5 separate regions of the Homo sapiens genome follow, and all the other regions are linked to region 1. Evidence: promoter capture Hi-C in human tissues and cell types (Jung and others, 2019). All regions are on one chromosome and are shown on one strand. Each heading gives the region's core, a stretch centred on a gene start or on the middle of the fragment in contact. The rest is flanking DNA. Distances are from core to core; before and after follow the strand shown. Region 1 holds the start of CTAGE1 (cutaneous T cell lymphoma-associated antigen 1). Region 2 overlaps LOC124904265 (a long non-coding RNA gene). Region 3 has its middle 110 kb from the start of GATA6. Region 4 overlaps GATA6 (GATA binding protein 6). Region 5 overlaps GATA6 (GATA binding protein 6).

Region 1 (2,700 bases), core at 118-2,617:
TCTTCTTTTGATAAAAATGAATAGTTTTCTCAAATTCTTTAAGATCTTTGGCTCGCTTTCGGTAGGTCTCCAGCTCTTCAGTGGCATGGCTGATCATTTCGTCTACTTTAGAAAGTTTCTCTTCTTTCTCTAACCGGCATTTTTCCTCTACTATTAATTTCCTGTAGAGTTTCATTTCATTTTCTTGATATAATTCAGTCATTACTTTAAGTTTCTGCTGAAGCTTCTGATTCTCACTTTCAAAATGTGTGTTTTCTGACTGCAAAGATGCTTGTTCAGTCTGAAGATTTTTAATATGCTCTGTAAGCTCTTCCTTTGTTTTATCAACTTCAGATAATTGAATATAAATTTGGTTTCTTTCTCCTTCTAAGGTTTTTAAGGAAGCATTTAACTTAGCAGCATGAATCAGTTTCTTCAAAGCTCCTTTTGGAGGATTATCTAAGTAAGCACCATCTTCCGATTCACTGTTCATTTCTAATTCCAAGTTATCATCATCCGTTACATCTTCTTCAAGCATAGCAACCCCATCTTTCATCTTTAGCAAGCGTTCAGTCAGAGTCTTGATGTGATTTTCTTTATCATTTAGAACTTGTTCTGCATGTACTTTGGAGTCTTCAAATGTTCTTTTCTGTTTAATAAGTTCACTCACTTGTTCTTTCCATACTTCAGCTTCTTGCAAAAGCTGTTTCTGGCTTTCCTGAAGTTCAGAATTTTCTTTCCAAGCATCTTGTATTTCTATCTCCAACCGTTCTTCATTCGCTTGAAATCTCTTGAAGGTCATTTTGGCTTCAGCTACTTGTGATTTGAGGGATTTTGACTCATCTTCTAGCGACTGTATCCTTTTGGAAATATCCGCCATCAATTCATTTTGTTCAGAATGTTTAGATTTCTCTTCTTTTAACTCTTTTTCTAGACAGAGTATTTCATGCACAAGTTCAGAATTGAACCTGTTCAGCTTTTCGCAGGTTGCCTCCAAACTTTGTGCTTCTGTTGCCTCCTTCTCAAAGCTGGCATTCTTTAAAGATGACTCTACTTCATAGCCTTCATACTCTTTTTGAACAAGGCTAAATTTTTCAAGTAGTTTACATTTTTCTTCAATTAGTCCAGAAAGTGCCACAGCAAACTTTTTCTCTCTTCTCACATAAAGCCGACTCGTAACTGATCTAAAACTTCTCCACAAGAAGAGAACAGCAAAAAATCCAGCAACAGCTGCACGTATCACCAATTCCCATGGAAAACCATAAGGATGAGAATCGGGTCTCATACCTTCAGTCAGTGCTGCCACAACCCTGCGTAGCAACTCCAGGACCAGCCCCAGGTATGGCTGAGGGTTAGCCCTAGGCTCCTCCGTAGCGCCAAGGCTGCTCTGGCGGTTGCTGCAGTAACCTCGGCCACAACAAACGCTGGAGAAGACGCAGCATTCCGTTTGGAACCTGAATCCCTAACGGGCAACCGGAGCGTACCACTGCGGAGCCGGCTGCGGGGGGAGTTAGGGGACGCGGGCACCCGTAGGCCTCACAGACCCACACTGCCCACCCCGGTACCTTTGTTACACTTTACATCCTGAGGAAGCGCTAAAACCTATATTTTAAAACAGTACCACATGGTGAGAAAGACTCAGGTGACCCAGCATCCCAGCTATGCCCATCCCAAGCTGACACCCTAGCTAAATGTAGCCTTGTGCATGACCCCAGGTGGGGCGGGCAGAAGAACCTCCCAGCTGACAGAATGATAAGGAATAACAAATCATTGTTTTAAGTCACTAAGCTTTGGGGTCATTTGTTATGCAGCAGTAGCTAACTGAAATACCTGCCCCCTTATCCCTTTGGTGTTTCAGTATCTGTGGCTGAAATAATGAATTTGGGTGCTTGACTAAGATTATGCCCTATGGTAAATTCTGATAGGTAATTTTATAGCTAAAATACAAATTTTCTGATTGACCTTTGCTTCATTGAAGAGATATTTATTTAGCTCCTCCCAAATGAGACAGATTATGCTTTTTAGATTAACTTCTTCCAGGAAAGGGCTCACCACTCCCTAGCATGAGCCTCAGCTGTCCCATGTACAACTGAAAAACGCTAATCTCATCCCCAGAAGATCCAGGACTCTTAGAACAGTGCTGGCACATAGAGAGTGATTCTCTTACCTGTCCATCAAACTTACCTGCTCTGTGTCCATTTCTGAAACACTGGCACTCCTTCAACACGGATGACGCCTTGCCCTGCAATAAGTCATCATCTCCCGCCCATGCACATATCTTCAACTCATCTGGAAAGCTTGCTCCTGCAGCAATGGGTATGCCCACTAGGTTATAAATCAGCGCCAGGACCAGTTTGATGCATATCCTCTGGACAGTCATCTTGGAAATATGAATGCTAGCCACCACATCCAGCAAATCATTTTTGATGAGGATGACGTTGGCTGCCTCGATGACCACATCCGTGCCAGTGCCAGTGGCAATGCCCAAGTCTGCCTGGGCCAAGGCCAGGGAATCATTGACCCCGTCCCCCACCATGGCGACTTTCTTCCCTTCATTCAGGAGCTCCTGAACCTTGGTCACCTTGTGTGAAGGCAACACCTCTGCAAAGACTTTGTTGATGCCAACCTGGGTGGCAAAGGCTCTGACTGTCTTCCAGTTGTCCCCCGTGATCAGAATCACGTTCACATGCATGCTTTGCAGCATGTGCACAGCCAGGGCAA
Region 2 (2,700 bases), core at 52-2,551, 150 kb after region 1:
AAGATCCATAATAGTAATAGGAAAAAATCTCAGCATGTCCTTCTCCCAACTGTTAGAGATACTCACCTCCTATTTAATGTGATAGGAGGTGTTCCTTCTACTTACAAAAAATTCGTATATATATTTAATTTTTTCTTAACTAAGTCTGAAAAGGAGAGACAACCTAGGCCATAAGTATGGAAAAGATGTATAGTTTCCCTCTCTCCTTTTTATGGGCGACTCCAAAGTGAAAGTCCAACCACTTAGGCGGATGAGCTTCAAGAAACTCTTCTCAGGACTGTGGAATGTGCACTGTGTCTACAGTCATCCATCCCTAAGCATATGTGGTTGTCACCCTCTAGTGGATGATCTATGATAATAGTTGGCAGCCTCCTGTGGGGCACAAGCACGATATTATCCAAGACTCACCTATCTTTAAGACGTAAATGACAGATAAGACTGCACCACAACTCTTCAGTCTTGGACACATATTTCCTAGGAAAATGGGTGCGCACGTGCTGTTTATTCAGTCTGCCATTCCCTGCTTCTTTTGAGTCTGTGTTTGTGTTTCCTACTGGTGTCTGGCATTTTCAAGAACAATACACATTTCCTTGAGGCAGACTTCTCCTACCATTGAGATAGTCCTAGGCAATTGATTCCCAGATATTGTTTGTATCCAGACTGGTCTTGAAAGCTTTCTCTATCTGCAGGTCTACTGGGTGTACCCAACTATTTAGCTGGTAACCAGGCACTTGCCAGTAGAATGCCAGTTCTGTGTTGAACAATTTGATCTACCTAGGAAAGTTGTGGACGATAAATATTGTTTCCATGTTTGCCGCTGTGTAAGGAGCCTAAACATAGATTCTTAGAGACTCTGATAGAATTTTTAGAGGTGGAAATGATAGGGTTTGCATTACCTTAAATTTTCAAGACTCAACACCAAGCATTAGATTGGAAAATAGAACTTTTTACAAAAGCCCTCTAAAATGAAGTCTGGCTTTGAATTCATTAGTATTACTAGATTCAAAATATAATCACATGATTTTCTTCTCTCCATTTTATTAGGTAACTGAAGATTTACATCTGTAAATCTGGATGGGAACTGAATTCCTACATCATAGACAGTTTCAAGGAGGGAAGGATTATGTGTTCAGGAAATACTCTGCATTCTCAAAACTCTACATTGTTGGTGCTTAGATTTGCTCTGTGAGAACCTACTGAAATAAACCTTTTCTCTGGAAGACAAGTACAGTTTCCCGAAGATCTGTTTATTTGCCAGCAGAGGAGTTGAATATTTGAAGCCAAGCCACCTTGGTTCTAAATCTGTGGTTAAATGGAAATCAGAGCACTGAGATATGCGGTGCCCCTCCCCACTCTTACTCATTTGAAAGATGAAGAAACTGAGGCTTGGCAAGGTTGAGTGGAGTTCACATAGCTAGCTAACCACAGAGCTGGCACCAAACAGGAGCCCAGCTCTCCAACTCCTAGGCCCTTGCCTCTCAGGTGGAATTTTCTTAGTGATTAGGAGAAAATCAGTTCCCTAGCCCTGTTCACAAGAGTTTATATTCTGTTTGGTTAAAAAGCATTTTTCTTGTTGTAAGAAATAAGTAACATAAAATTTACCATTTTAACTTTTTTTTTTTTCCCCATAGAGTCTCGCTCTGTCACCCAGGCTGGAATGATGCAGTGGCGAGCTCTCAACTCACTGCAACTTCCACCTCCTGGGTTCCAGCAATTCTCCTGCCTCAGCCTCCCAAGTAGCTGGGACTACAGGTACGCGCCACAGCGCCCAACTAATTTTTGCATTTTGTAGTAGAGACGGGGTTTCACCATATTGGCCAGGCTGGTCTCAAACTCCTGACCTCATGATCCGCCCACTTTTGCCTCCCAAAGTACTGGGATTACAGGCGTGAGCCACTGTGCCTGGCCCATTTTAAGTGTTTTAAGTGTACAATTTTGTGGCATTAAGTACATTCACATAATTGAGCAACTATCCCCAGCATCTATTTCCAGAACTTTAAAAAATCTTCCCAAACAAACTCTGTCTCCACTATCTAATAATTTCTCATTCTCCCCTACCCTCAGCCCCTGGCAACTACTATTCTACTTTTTGCCTTTACGAATTTGACCACTGTAGGTGCCTCATATAAGTGGAATCAAACACTATTTGCCCCTTTGTTACTGGCATGTTTCACTTAGCATATTTTCAAGGTTAATCCATGTTGCAGCATGTCAGAATTTCCTTCATTTTAAACGCTAAATAATATTCCTGTGTTTGTCTGTGTGTGTGTGTGTGTGTGTGTGTGTGTGTGTGTATTACACTTTGTTTTGTTTGTCCATTCATCCGTCAATAGATACTTGGGAAAAATATTTTTTAAATGCACAATAAAAATAAATATAAATATGTAAGAAGTAAAAGCATCTCTGCAAGAGGCTTGAGGCTATATTTGTTTAAAAAAGACTGCTGGGAATTGCTGGAGTAATTAAAGAGTAATTTAATAATTTTACACAGAACTATTTTAAATTGAAACTGTGAGCTTTGGTTTACTTACCTTTATATTCTCTACCACCTCCCATGGCATCCTAGCATCAGCACAGGGTCACATGTGGTAGGTACTCAATAAATATATGCTAAATTTCCAAGTCATGCATAGGAAAAATCAAAGGCAATCTATATTATCATTGTTTTTCCTTTTTTGTTAATTTTATTTACTACACAGT
Region 3 (2,700 bases), core at 195-2,694, 130 kb before region 1:
AAAAAGCATTTATTGGTTCAGATTTTTAGTTCTGTGTCTATCTGCCTGTCTATTTGTCTATCTACCTAAGTATCTATCTATGTCTATCTATATTCCTATTGATGGTTCAGGGACCTTGCAAGCATCTGATTTAATCTTATTATTGCAAAAGAAAGAGATACAGACTGCACATGTAAGTTTTAGGAATTGCAAGTACCTCTTTTGAGCCACTGGGGTTGAGGCTTCAGTTCTCTACCACTGAGAAGAATCAGGCAGATAGAGACCATTTTATGACATAGATTAAGGGGTTTAGGTCAGAGGTCAGGAAGGACTATGTGTCAGGCCATTTCCCTAAGAGAGATGTCAAAATGAAAATGAATATTATTGCCTATATCAGATGTCCTGAACTTCAGGGCAATGAGAGGGTCCTGATCAATGGTATCATTCTGTCTGTATATTTACTTACATGAACTCAAATAGGCACACACATGGGTGAGGAGGGGGCCATTTAAGTGGACCTGGCAATTAGGCCTATGACTCAGTCCAAGTTCCCACAAGAAGATGGGATGGGGGTATAGGAATCTGCTGGCCCCACAATTGGGCTCTCTCACAGGCTCTCAGTGTAATCTCACTGTGCTGAGTGTGAGTCTAACAGTTTTGATCCCCACACAGCATGGCTCCTACATGCGAGTCATCATCTTCATGTAATGCTCGGTGATTAGTTTCAATTCCAGTGTAAGAGCTGGCTATGCTGAGCTTCCTGAGAGAGGAGATGTCCATTTCCAACGTGGTTCACAGTTATGGGTTTGCCCAGTCTAACAGGGGTCATAAAGATCTGAGAGAGAAAAAAAAATCGTGAAGCTGTGGCATTAAGTACTAAAATGGTTGCTAAGTTTACCTTCCCACTAGCAGTGTAGAAGTGTCCCCTGATCGCCGCATCCATGCCAACATCTACTGTTTTTTGATTTTTTGATTATGGCCATTCTTGCAGGAGTAAGGTGGTATCACATTGTGGTTTCGATTTGCATTTCCCTAATCATTAGTGATGTTGAGCATTTTTTCATATGTTTGTTGGCCATTTGTACATCTTCTTTTGAGAGTTGTCTATTCATGTCCTTAACCCACTTTTTGACAGGATCGTTTGTTTTTTTCTTACTGATTTGCTCAGGTGATAGGTGCACCAGGATCTCACAAATCACCACTGAAGAACTTACTCATGTAACCAAATACCACCTGTACCCCAATACATTTATTGTTATAGAACAATAAATAAAGTAATAATAAAAAGATTGTTAAGGAGATACATCAGATATGTATAAGTTTTTTTTTTTTTTTTTGAGACTGAGTTTCGCTCTTGTTGCCCAGGCTGGAGTGCAACGGCACAATCTCAGCTCACTGCAACCTCCACCTCCCAGGTTCAAGAGATTCTCCTGCCTCAGCCTCCCAAGTAGCTGGGATTACAGGCATGTGACACCACGCCTGGCTAATTTTGTATTTTTAGTAGAGACGGGGTTCCACCATGTTAGTCAGGCTGGTCTCAAACTCCCAACCTCAGGTGATCTGCCCGCCTCGGCCTCCCAAAGTGCTGGGATTACAGGCATGAGACACCACACCCAGTTAAATATGTATAAGATTTTAGAAAAGATTGAAATGGCTTTTGACTTGTGCCTGGAAGACTCAGACTATGAGTATATGCCTATGAATTTTAATGTGTTCTAACTTCCTGCCAAAAAGGTACAGATTCCTGATGAAAAGATATTTCCAAAACTAATTTCAACTCTACATGTTTTCACCAATAGGCTACCTTCTGACCCTAACTCCCATGGAAATTATGATGGTTAAGAGCATGAACTTTGAGTCAGATATCAGATTCCAAATCCCAGCTCCACCGATAACATATTAATTCTACTAAGCCTCAGTTTCCTCAAATGTAACAATAGTTCTTACCTAATAGGGTAATTTTGTGGATTAGATGAGACAATCCCTGTTGTAGCATTTAGCACCTGCATTTAATAAGCAATGCAATAGATGTTTACTCTGATTATTCAGGAAGCAAAAGCAATCCGATGTATTGGCTCTATGCCACTGATTTGTGGGAAGAACAAAAGACTGGTTCTGTGCTCTGGATCCAAAGCAATGCAAAAGTTTTAAAAACAAATTTGTTTCTCGTTTTTACTCTTTTGTCTGTTGTGTTTTATATCTCTAACTTCTGAACTATTCAGATATACATATTACATATGCAACTATTCATTCCATGTACTTGGTGAATATTTCTTGAGCATCTGCTATGTGCCAAGCCAGGTGCTGGTTATGCAGAGGCAAGACACAGTCCCTGAAGAGTGGGAGGAAACAGACACATAAATGACAGTCACAAGCCAGCCTAGAAAATGGAATGATAATGGGCACCTGAAAGAACTTATGTGCCAAAAGTAGTGACTGGGTTGGGGAGGGCTCCTGGCATGAGAAAGGCATGGAAGTGAGAAACAGCAGGGTCATTGGGCAACCATGGGGAATTCACTTTGCCAGAATGGAATGTGTAAATCTGGGAATGGTGGGCAAATAGCCTAGAAAGAAAGGCTGATCATGGAGACTTTGACCTCCAGCCTGGAGGCCATGGGATACTGTTGATTGAATATATATTTTCATTGGAGGAGAAAAGAATTATAGGTTAACTCAGCAGGACTTGTGACTGCTGGGAGTGGGAAGTGAGGGGAAGGGGAA
Region 4 (2,700 bases), core at 23-2,522, 240 kb before region 1:
GCAATAAACTGCAAGGGGATGAGAAAGAACCAAAAGGTTCACCAGCACATAATCTTAAGCTAAAACTCTGAAGTGTAATGTTTATTTACTTTAAAAAGTGATTCAGGAATGCTTCTTCAATAATGCAGAACTAGGACATTTAAACCTTCTATAATCTAAAGAACCTTAAATGGCGGTCTATACTTTTTTTTGGTCTATACTTACAATAAGTACCTTTCTCATTTTTAGAGACATTTATTCTTCCATATTTAACCTTCTTGAGAAGTAATAAATGTTACATTTACTCTTAATTAGGATTTGTTTTTATTAGCAGGTTTAGGTTATTGTGAATTCTGAAAACTAACCAAAGAATAATAATAATAAAATTATGTAAAATAAACACATTTTAAATCGATTGCTAACTCAAAATGATCACTGGGAAGGTCTTGGTAATTTTCTCAATCAGTAAGGTATCAACCTTTTATAAAAATTTTGCAGATAGAAGCAGTTGGACCCACTTCTAAATCGGGATTTTAGCATTTGATCTTTGTGGCATGAAAATAAAACTCTGTGCTTAACGTTAGTGCATTTTTCCCCTGAAAAGATGAGAGTAATCTTCTCATTTCTAGTTTCTAACTAACGTAGGTGCCTAAGAATAGTACTTTTAATTTCACTTGTGTATCTTTAATTGGAGAAGAGGCACATATGGACGGGTGGCAGATGTAGAAAATACTTTTTAAAATTACTTGAGATAAAAGTTAATGAGGCAGCCTCGCTGTGTCCCCGGATATTTGTGGGTTGCAGCGGGGCTCAGTGGTCAGTATTTCTGTGTGGCTTGCTCGGGTTTGGCAACGACGTACTGTAATGATGATGGATTTCAGTCTTTAAAAGCTCCGGGACAGCCTGAGAGTAGGGGTCAGGGGACTCAAGCCGACCTCCCCACCGCTCATCTCGGACTCTGACGTCCTCTGCTTCCAGCACTGTCTCTTTCCCGGAGTCTCTACTGGGGCGCTCCGGGTGTGCAGAAGTATTGGACAAATGGTCAGTGGAGCAATAGTGACGAAATAACCCTGCTCCTGGCTTTGCGGCCAAGGAGAAAAGCTCAGCCGGGAAGGGCACGGGCAGGGAAGCCGGGCACCGGGGCTGGGGGCCGGGGTCCCCGGGGTGACGCGGGGAGGGACGGGTCCGGCGCGCCCACTCCCGCCCTCACGCACCGCTGTCGCCGCAGACCTGCTGGAGGACCTGTCCGAGAGCCGCGAGTGCGTGAACTGCGGCTCCATCCAGACGCCGCTGTGGCGGCGGGACGGCACCGGCCACTACCTGTGCAACGCCTGCGGGCTCTACAGCAAGATGAACGGCCTCAGCCGGCCCCTCATCAAGCCGCAGAAGCGCGTGGTGAGTGTGACCCGCCCTGCCCCTGGCTCGCGGCCGGCCCCGGGCTCTCCTGGCCCGGCCGGCCCCGCCCTGGCTCGGCCTGCCTTGGGCGTCCCCCTCCCAGGGGACAGGTGCGGCCGCTGCGGTCCCACCCTAGCGGGGACCCAGCGGTACCATCCTGTCCCGGCTGTTCCAACGCCCACCCGCTGGCGCCCAAGTAGAAGTTACCCCGAAACTGGCCTCTGGGAAGCCAAGATAGCCTTTCCCCATGTTTACGCGCAGGGGATGACGTCCGTAAATGACAAAAACAAAAACAAACAAAAAAGGAAGGTGCAAAATGTTACCATGTTTTAAGCAAAAAAAGAAAAAATAATCTATATATCTCTAGGTGTACTTGCCAAAGCACCGTAATAATTCTGGTAAGATAGGCAAGAAATTGGTGATGGTAACCCGAGGAGAAAAACAGTAGACCTACCGAGGCCGGGCGAAGGAAGACTTTTTTCACTGTGTATGGTTTAGATTTTATGCTTGAAAAACCATGCTCACTTATACCATTCGTCCCCCAAATAGAATATGCCAGAAATCCACCCACTCACGCCTCCTCACAGCCACATTCTTTTGGGTGCCGTTTACTTTGTCCTTTCCACCTTCTTGGTCACTTCTACCTCTTATCCTCAGGTGTATCCCCAAATACCATATCTTGGATTGCCCTTGAGCCTGGTGAAAATTTATTTGCTCTAACTTTTGTTATTTCAAAATCAGAGAACTTTGTAGAACTTGAGTAAAAGTGTGGTTTGTATGTTCTTAAGTTGAGCATTTTCCCCAATTCGCACACGTTTTACTGTTTTTTTGTTTTTTTTTTTTTTTTTTTTTTTTTTGAGACGGAGTTTCACTCTTGTTGCCCAGGCTGGAGTGCAATGGCGCGATCTCGGCTCACCGCAGCCTCCGCCTCCAGGGTTCAAGCGATTCTCCTGCCTCAGCCTCCCGAGTAGCTGGGATTACAGGCATGTGCCACCACGCCCGGCTCATTTTTTTGTATTTTTAGTAGAGACAGGGTTTCTCCATGTAGGTCAGGCTGGTCTCGAACTCCCGATCTCATGTGATCCCGCCCGCCTCGGCCTCCCGAAGTGCTAGGATTACAGGCGTGAGCCACCGCGCCCGGCCACCATGTTTTAAAGTAAGGGAATCCTGATTTCAGGGATTAATCTCGTATTGTCATTGTTATGTGTGCTTCCTAGCCGGAGAGAGTATTTACCGCTGTAATAGAGAAAATAAAGGAAAGCTTTCACCAGTCCCACTCTAAGGTTAACATTTGTTTAGCGAAGTACTCATAATCTAATAACCCTT
Region 5 (2,700 bases), core at 81-2,580, 220 kb before region 1:
TTCATGAGGTCTCTTATCAAAAATATTACTCAGTTTGCAAGACTGCATTGTAACTTTAACATACACTGTGACTGACGTTTCTCAAAGTTCATATTGTGTGGCTGATCTGAAGTCAGTCGGAATTTGTAAACAGGGTAGCAAACAAGATATTTTTCTTCCATGTATACAATAATTTTTTTAAAAAGTGCAATTTGCGTTGCAGCAATCAGTGTTAAATCATTTGCATAAGATTTAACAGCATTTTTTATAATGAATGTAAACATTTTAACTTAATGGTACTTAAAATAATTTAAAAGAAAAATGTTAACTTAGACATTCTTATGCTTCTTTTACAACTACATCCCATTTTATATTTCCAATTGTTAAAGAAAAATATTTCAAGAACAAATCTTCTCTCAGGAAAATTGCCTTTCTCTATTTGTTAAGAATTTTTATACAAGAACACCAATATACCCCCTTTATTTTACTGTGGAATATGTGCTGGAAAAATTGCAACAACACTTTACTACCTAACGGATAGCATTTGTAAATACTCTAGGTATCTGTAAACACTCTGATGAAGTCTGTATAGTGTGACTAACCCACAGGCAGGTTGGTTTACATTAATTTTTTTTTTTGAATGGGATGTCCTATGGAAACCTATTTCACCAGAGTTTTAAAAATAAAAAGGGTATTGTTTTGTCTTCTGTACAGTGAGTTCCTTCCCTTTTCAAAGCTTTCTTTTTATGCTGTATGTGACTATAGATATTCATATAAAACAAGTGCACGTGAAGTTTGCAAAATGCTTTAAGGCCTTCCTTTCAAAGCATAGTCCTTTTGGAGCCGTTTTGTACCTTTTATACCTTGGCTTATTTGAAGTTGACACATGGGGTTAGTTACTACTCTCCATGTGCATTGGGGACAGTTTTTATAAGTGGGAAGGACTCAGTATTATTATATTTGAGATGATAAGCATTTTGTTTGGGAACAATGCTTAAAAATATTCCAGAAAGTTCAGATTTTTTTTCTTTGTGAATGAAATATATTCTGGCCCACGAACAGGGCGATTTCCTTTCAGTTTTTTCCTTTTGCAACGTGCCTTGAAGTCTCAAAGCTCACCTGAGGTTGCAGACGTTACCCCCAACAGAAGATAGGTAGAAATGATTCCAGTGGCCTCTTTGTATTTTCTTCATTGTTGAGTAGATTTCAGGAAATCAGGAGGTGTTTCACAATACAGAATGATGGCCTTTAACTGTGGCTCCCTGAGTGTACAGTATTTTTTTACTTCTTTTCATGCACTTATTACAGTCATTCTATGGGGTTCAGTCTGAATCTTTCAAGAGAAGGAATGTCTTCCTTAGTCCTGGTGAATGCTACTCTATAGAGGGACAGTGTCCATAGCCAGTGTGTGTGTGTGTGTGTGTTTCTGGGTAATTCAGTAAGGCCCACGTGCACCCTGATATCATAAGGTGGGCCAGAACAATGGTTAAGAGTGTTGGGTATGCAGGCAGATCACTAGGCTTCAATTCCCTGCTTGGCCGTGGATAAGCTCTGTGACCTTGGGCAAGTTATCCAGCTCTCATCTTTCTAATATAAAATAAAGGCAAATAGTATATAAATCACAGGATTAAGTGAGATAGTCCATGCCAAGTGCTTAGCACAATACCTGGCACATATTAAGTACTAACTTGACTTTGAAAGAGAGTGGCATGATTTGCAACATAGATCCTTTGAATAATGTCTGACTACCTGGAATATCAGAAGTTTATGGTCTGTAAGAGTGATGTCCTGTGGGTCACCTGTGCTTCTTCAACAAGGCCAAGAAGAGTGAAATGAAAGACTCCCTCTAATCCAGGGGGTTGCAGAAATGGAGGGAGGATGCATGAGAGCTGATTGTTTTATAATAGAACAAGGCTGTTCTGACAACAGAAGAAAATTATTATCCCCACGAACTGATGTCTGTTTTCCTCCCTCCTTTTATGGTTCTCATTACTTTGAGTGCTTTTTGGTGGGTTGGGAGTTGTTAAAGTTAATATGGTTTGATTGGAAAATGAATTTTTCTTTTTGGGGCTTCCAAATGACCCTTTTTCTGGGATAATCTCAAATATTGCTCCTTCCAATTCTAAAAAGAATTCTAGTTTTTATGAAACAAATTACAGTGGGCAGAAGACAGAGGGGGCTTCTTGTAGCCTGTCCTAACACAATGAACTCCACTATCTGTTTTTAAATGATTACTTTCTTACCTATGATTGCATAAAGAAGTTTGTTAAATTTGCTCCAAATACACAATTTCAGCACTCCTCTCCCAAAGTATGACATGTGCAACTGAACATGACCCAATCATTTCTCAAAAGGGAATGCATTCAAATAGATGCTGCACCTCAGCTTAAAGAATCCCCAGACCGTATATCGTGGACTGGAGAATTTATGTCTTCTGTCACACATGGCTGATTTGAGGCCATCTTAAATAAGTGAAGGCTCTGTCTGGGGTCTCTTTTCAGGGTCACTTAATGTTGTTTCCTGGTGCTTATGGGAGGGTCAGGAAAGCAAAGGGAACCATTCATTTCCCAGTGCAAATAAATTAACTTCTTGCTCATGGGAAATGTTTTTCACAGTCCTTGGAAATTTGATGTAATTTCAGATCACAGATAAATTGGCTGCTTTGCTGGGAGGGCAACCCAGCGAGTCTTCAATGCTGTGCCAGATTCCAGGGTGAGTTCA

Evidence for each region. The method cuts DNA at HindIII sites, captures the fragments that hold promoters and counts their contacts. A contact is called where the count stands out against the background at its distance.
Region 2: a fragment that was not itself captured here is called in contact with the fragment with the promoter of CTAGE1 in region 1 in 1 of the 25 tissues and cell types used here (heart left ventricle).
Region 3: a contact is called between a fragment that was not itself captured here and the fragment with the promoter of CTAGE1 in region 1, in 2 of the 25 tissues and cell types used here (heart left ventricle and heart right ventricle).
Region 4: a fragment that was not itself captured here is called in contact with the fragment with the promoter of CTAGE1 in region 1 in 4 of the 25 tissues and cell types used here (H1 embryonic stem cells, IMR-90 fibroblasts, aorta and 1 more).
Region 5: a fragment that was not itself captured here is called in contact with the fragment with the promoter of CTAGE1 in region 1 in 6 of the 25 tissues and cell types used here (aorta, bladder, heart right ventricle and 3 more).

Annotation. Positions count from the first base shown.
Region 1 is chr18:22,416,548-22,419,247 of GRCh38, forward strand. It overlaps CTAGE1 (cutaneous T cell lymphoma-associated antigen 1), which reads right to left and starts at 1,368. Exons shown (of 1, transcript NM_172241.3): 1 at 1-1,368. The coding sequence starts at 1,264. It also overlaps the pseudogene ATP7BP1. The HindIII fragment of the contact is 3,989 bases long and covers 1-2,021 here.
Region 2 is chr18:22,562,972-22,565,671 of GRCh38, forward strand. The region is part of intron 2 of LOC124904265 (a long non-coding RNA gene); the gene reads left to right. Among named protein-coding and RNA genes, the nearest start is that of CTAGE1, 150 kb to the left of the region's middle. The HindIII fragment of the contact is 4,164 bases long and covers 1-2,700 here.
Region 3 is chr18:22,282,984-22,285,683 of GRCh38, forward strand. No RefSeq gene overlaps it. Among named protein-coding and RNA genes, the nearest start is that of GATA6, 110 kb to the left of the region's middle. The HindIII fragment of the contact is 6,589 bases long and covers 1-2,700 here.
Region 4 is chr18:22,175,748-22,178,447 of GRCh38, forward strand. It overlaps GATA6 (GATA binding protein 6), which reads left to right. Exons shown (of 7, transcript NM_005257.6): 3 at 1,208-1,374. Among named protein-coding and RNA genes, the nearest start is that of GATA6, 7.5 kb to the left of the region's middle. RefSeq lists an enhancer at 2,555-2,700. The HindIII fragment of the contact is 4,632 bases long and covers 1-2,700 here.
Region 5 is chr18:22,201,293-22,203,992 of GRCh38, forward strand. GATA6 (GATA binding protein 6) reads left to right here. Exons shown (of 7, transcript NM_005257.6): 7 at 1-1,236. Among named protein-coding and RNA genes, the nearest start is that of GATA6, 33 kb to the left of the region's middle. The HindIII fragment of the contact is 7,031 bases long and covers 1-2,700 here.